Regions from separate parts of the Homo sapiens genome. Here region 2 is linked to region 1. Evidence: promoter capture Hi-C in human tissues and cell types (Jung and others, 2019). All regions are on one chromosome and are shown on one strand. The core of a region is centred on a gene start or on the middle of the fragment in contact, and the rest is flanking DNA. Distances in the headings are between cores, read along the strand shown. Region 1 holds the start of AKAP6 (A-kinase anchoring protein 6). Region 2 overlaps AKAP6 (A-kinase anchoring protein 6).

Region 1 (2,712 bases), core at 136-2,635:
CCTGCTTTCCATGATATATCTCTTTAGCCCCAATAAACAGACTAAAAGAAGAGGAATTCAATGGTTGCCATTCTTTCGTGTAAGACTTTTTGAGTAAAAACTATCAATTTGGCAGCATTAAGCCACAAGACCACTCCCTGATTCTAAGTGGACATATTGATCAATTGAACTGACATGTGCCTCCTCCTTTCTCTCCCCTAGTAGCAATCAGCTGTACCAGGGAAATCCATTTCATTTCCCAAAACAAAAGGCAACATTCTGCTCCTTATCTGACACTGTCAGACTAATTTTTTAGAAAATAATAATAATAATAAAGATGCCTAAAAACAGAGCTAGGAGTTGAAATGAAAATGATACGTGTTTAGAGTTTTGGAATTGAGTTGAGGTTATGACTGAGTCCAGAGGTCTGTAATCCCTACAACCACTGAGGACCCTGATATTTATTCATCATACCCAGATTTTTGTTAAAGTTAAGCAAGGGATGGCAACACCACTGCCACTTCAGAGGCTCTCCCAGGGTTACCCTTCACTGCAACTGCCGCAGAGAGGAGACTTGTTCCTTTCTCAGTTACAAGTCAGCCTGCAAACAACTCCAGCTATTTCAGAGACTAGCTAGAGATGGAAAAATATGTGGCAGTCTTTCAACTAACTCTGAAGGACATGGGTTGAAGAACTACCATATAGATCAAAAGGCTCAAATAATTTCATTTGGTTTAGGTTTTTATGCTTTTAATAAATTCTGTCTTGAATATGCAAGAGATCCCCTTTCACATCAGGGTTATGTCAAATGCTTATTCAGCATTTGTTCCTTGCCATGAAGAAACTGAAACCCAACCGAGGTAAATAATGAATTTCATACTGCAAATCACTGAATATTTCATAATTCACAAGAGCAAAGAGGGGGCCAATTAGCTCTGCCTCCCAAAAAGAAATCTATATTTTTACAATGCTTAAATACTGTTAACTACTCATTTTAAAGCTTATCTGGGGTTTTGCAATTGAAAAATCATCTTATGTTTATGAAAAATTCTGTAAGAACACTTAAAAATAACAGACAGAGCTGGAGCAAGAATAATTCTACATATTTTAATTCCTATATGACTCTTACAGGCCTTTGTCTTAACCCGGCAGCCTGAAAAACGATTTAGGTAAAACAGCCCTTCTTTCCCCAGTCCATTTTAAGCAGAGACAACATCCCCCAATCTCCGCCTTAGCAGACACCGACTAACCAACAAAACAGCCGTGCAATTAAGGCCCAGACATTTAACACTCACCATCTCCTGATCCCACCGTCTTCTTTTGATGTTTACAGCACATCTGTAGGATGCAATACTAGGAGATGCCTTGTTTGACCTGCTGCATGATGCTGTGACATCAGTTCAGATGATGCAGCTCATTATGGGAAAGACTGCTGTTGCTATGGCAACTGGGATGTGCTAGGAATCCTTGCTGCATTTCCAGTGGAGCCTGAGACAATACGGAAGCCCTGTAAGAAACAGACGATATGCAAAATTTAGACCAAAGGAAGAGGATTCCTCATTGGACTAAAATCCATAGGTTTAAAAGGGATTTCCCTGAAAGCATTTTGGAAAAAACAAAAATTATCTCCCCCTTTGTTGTTATACATTTAGAAAAAAAAGGTGGGAGGAGAAAATAGAATTAGTACTAAGCAAATAAAAACTGAAATGTACAATGTTTCCTTATTAGACAATTTGATCACTTTTTCCTCCCTGGTCAGCACTGGGATAGCTTTTTAAAAGTTATTAAAAAGAATTTTTGCTCATCTGTCAAAGACCAAAAGAACAAAACAGCGAGCACAAAAATAATTAAAAATGGAATATAAACAGCTGACCAAATGACTCTAACTCTCAAGTAAACAAGTTTTAATTCTCAAAACATGGGCAAACCCTTGGCCAATGAAGTCTGTCCTGGTTATTTTCCCTGATGAACACCAACCCACAGAACCTTCCCATGCAGAATAAACCCAGCTTTCACCTGGTCATCAGATAGGCAGCAAAGGGAAGTTTGGAATCTAGAGGGGCACAACACACCACCCTCAACTTCTACTGACCCTTCCTTTGGCCTGCAGGGAACCCCTCCTTCTCATGGCCAAAACGCATGTGAGTCTTTTCTGGGATCAAACCTAGTGGTTGGAACAAGTAGCAGACCTGCTAGAAACTTCCTAAATCGTTGGCATTCCAAACATTGGGGTCTGTTTTCTTCTTTTCTGAACAATAAAACTGCCTACCACACAGATTATTTGTGCCCCTCCCCAACCCCAAAAGCTGGAACTGTGTGAAAAGCCACATTTAAACAAGACACGGTAAGGCATTTCTCCAGTTGGTAAAAGAAAAGCAAATCTAAAGCAATCACTTCTTTCCAGTCCTGAGCAGAAATCAACGTCATGTGGTGAGAACTGGGGAGAAGGAGATATGGACAGAGCAGCCTATGTTTTGCATATTTAATATTTGCAGGCCATTGATAGAGAAAAGCAGAATCAAGTTGACCTGTATCCACTCCGTCTTCACAACTCTGAAAAAGAACAACATTCCAAAAGCTTAAAACATGAGACAATTATGTTGTCTCCTCCTGCTTGAGATTTTAAAATGGCACTGTTAACCACCAGCATAGGCGGTGTGGGATGAGTGGCAGAAGGAATTCAGGCAGTGTCTCTGTAAACAGGAGCTAATAAAATGCCTGAGAAGTGCCAAT
Region 2 (2,712 bases), core at 91-2,590, 100 kb before region 1:
CTGATTCCAATTTCTCCAATTTTTTTTTTTTTGAGATGGAGTCTCACTCTGTTGCCCAGGCTGGAGTGCAGTGGTGCCATCTCAGCTCACTGCAAGCTCTGCCTCCCGGGTTCACGCCATTCTCCTGCCTCAACCCCCCAGGTAGCTGGGTCTACAGGTGCCTGCCACTATGCCTGGCTAATTGTACTTTTTTTAGTAGAGACAGGGTTTCACTGTGTTATCCAGGATGGTCTCCATCTCCTGACCTCGTGATCCGCCCACCTCGGCCTCCCAAAGTGCTGGGATTACAGGCATGAGCCACCGCACCCAGCCCCAAATTTTTAATATTTAAAAAAAATTATTAATCGACCCACTGCCCTCTGGGGGTAAGTTTAGAATCACAATGCTATAGAAGGAATCTGATACATAAAGGTTAATAAGGTTTCTAGGTCAAGAACTTAGAACTGGTTATAAATGAAGACACTGGTGTCACAGTGGTTCCCTCTTCTAAGAAGCCAGAGTCACTGAAACTAGAAAACTGAATGCTGAGCCAGGGCAGCATACAATGAACTGTTTAAGCTACACTGACACATACACACTCACCGCAAAACCCTGCCCCAAAGCCCTGCACAACTGAAAAAACAGTGCTTAGTCACCGTGTTTTCTCTGAAACTCCTAAGTCAAGGCAGGGCCTTCTTGGGAATACACATCCTACCGTAAACTAAAAAACACACTAAAGAATTAGCTTATGTCCCAACCTGCAACATTTCCATATATACCATCAGTCCACGCACTAAGCACACTGCAGTTTTATATGATTTGGGGCAAAATCCTCCATACATTTCTTGGCCTCAGTTTCTTCATCTGTAAAATGACAAAACGGAACTAGATAGTCAATAGGATCCCATTTGCCCTAAGAATCTGTGATTGCCTAGGGTTATTTATCCAGAGATTTCAAAGCTGTTGGAAGTTTCCTGCCTATCTTGAGAGCTGTGTAGCTACTAAATGATGGTTCTCCATTTTGTCAAAGCCTACAAGTATTATTGATAGATGTGTCCTACTTAATGAAAAGGAATAAATTACTATCATGAAAACAGCGTTTTGTAAGTCATTATTTACACGTTTTGTGTTGTTAATTCTTCCCAGAGGAACAAACATGGGAGATTCTCCCCTCTAGAAGTTTGCCACTTAAGACTGACAAAACAGATGTGGTTATATATGTAGAAGACAAACCAGAATAAAATAAAAATATGAAACAAAAGCATAGCTGGAGAGGAGAAGATGTGCATCCTATATGAGTCAAGTACAAAGAAATCTTACATTCAAGCTGCCAAAGCAAAATTTTCCTGTAACTATAAAACTTCTAACTAGATGCTATGTTTCCACATTCAACTGATCAGACTACACACAAGAGAATTTCTATAACCCATAGAGATAAAACAAAGCGTGCTTTACTCAAGTTTCATTTCAACTTCTATTTACTTTCCTTCACATATACCTTTGCCACTAGGAAAAGAATGGTATATGTGTCATTAAGCACAGCAAGCCTGGGTAGTAGCATAAAATGGATTAATTGCCCATTTTCATGAAAAGCAATTACTACAAACATTTTTCAATTTTTAGTAGTTCACATTTAAATGTAGCATATATGGATGGTCATACTCTTTTTCTGATTTTAACAAAATCACATCTGATTTTAAAGATAAATTATAATTTTTTAAAAATGCTTCAAATTGTAGAAACGTATAGTAACAGTCTTTGTGAATATTTTTCTTGTTCTTATCAGGACTATTCAAGTTTCTTTCCCATCAAACTAATTACTCCATTTGAATGCAAACAGAAAGCAGGAAATTGAGCATGAGTCTATATCTGTAAATAATATAAGATTTGAATTCTTGTTTACAAGTCATCTTGAGATAAGATTCCTTTCTAGTCACAGAGACATTTTTTTAAAAGCTTAGACTACAAGTTCTGATGGTGAAAATAAAAAAATTTGATCAAGTGCACACAGGTGCCTACCGAGTTACAACTCTGGCTCCAAGACGGTGTGAAAGGAGTGATCAGACAGCTTTTTGGAACCCAGTGACCTCTCATCTCCCTCCCCCTAATCAAATGCTTGTCTGCGGCCACCTTTCCAGCATTAGCGATAATACCACCTTTATCCCAGCTGCTGTTAAAAATAACATCCATCAAATCCCTTCCTTTACACAAATCCAAAGAAGAGGCAATAATTAAAGTGCAATAGCTGAAAGCAGTAATGATTTTAAGGCTTTTTTTTAAATTATAAAAGGGTTTTTCCACCTTATTCTATTTATCATCCTATAGAAACATGCCATGGATGGCTTACTAACAAGGACTGTTTCTGCGATCTCATGTCCACAAGTTTTGGGTTGGAGCTTGACGCTAGCAGAATGCATTCAACTTGAATAAACAAACACATTTAAATCAGAAAAGTTCATTCGACCAAATCAGGAGACAAAAAAGTTCAGCTACATCGCCATCAAAGCTTCCCACCTCTCTCTCCTTTCTTTTACAATTTTCTCTCTTAAATAAAAGAACAGAAAAGCCGGGTATCTTGCCTATTGTACTCACTGTAAATGGTTTTTTCCCTAACGGCCCTTCAGGATTAATCATTTGGCTCCTCCTCTCCCCGGTGTTTCTCTTCTTGTGGCCAAACAATATGAAGGCCAGTGTCGGGGCTGCACCATGCTGGCAGGACACTGGTGCCAGTAT

Evidence for each region. Contacts are between HindIII fragments. The study calls those that stand out against the background at their distance.
Region 2: a fragment that was not itself captured here is called in contact with the fragment with the promoter of AKAP6 in region 1 in 2 of the 25 tissues and cell types used here (dorsolateral prefrontal cortex and hippocampus).

The regions. Positions count from the first base shown.
Region 1 is chr14:32,327,971-32,330,682 of GRCh38, reverse strand. It overlaps AKAP6 (A-kinase anchoring protein 6), which reads right to left and starts at 1,385. Exons shown (of 14, transcript NM_004274.5): 1 at 1,275-1,385. The HindIII fragment of the contact is 5,497 bases long and covers 403-2,712 here.
Region 2 is chr14:32,428,425-32,431,136 of GRCh38, reverse strand. The region is part of intron 1 of AKAP6 (A-kinase anchoring protein 6); the gene reads right to left. Among named protein-coding and RNA genes, the nearest start is that of AKAP6, 100 kb to the right of the region's middle. The HindIII fragment of the contact is 6,611 bases long and covers 1-2,712 here.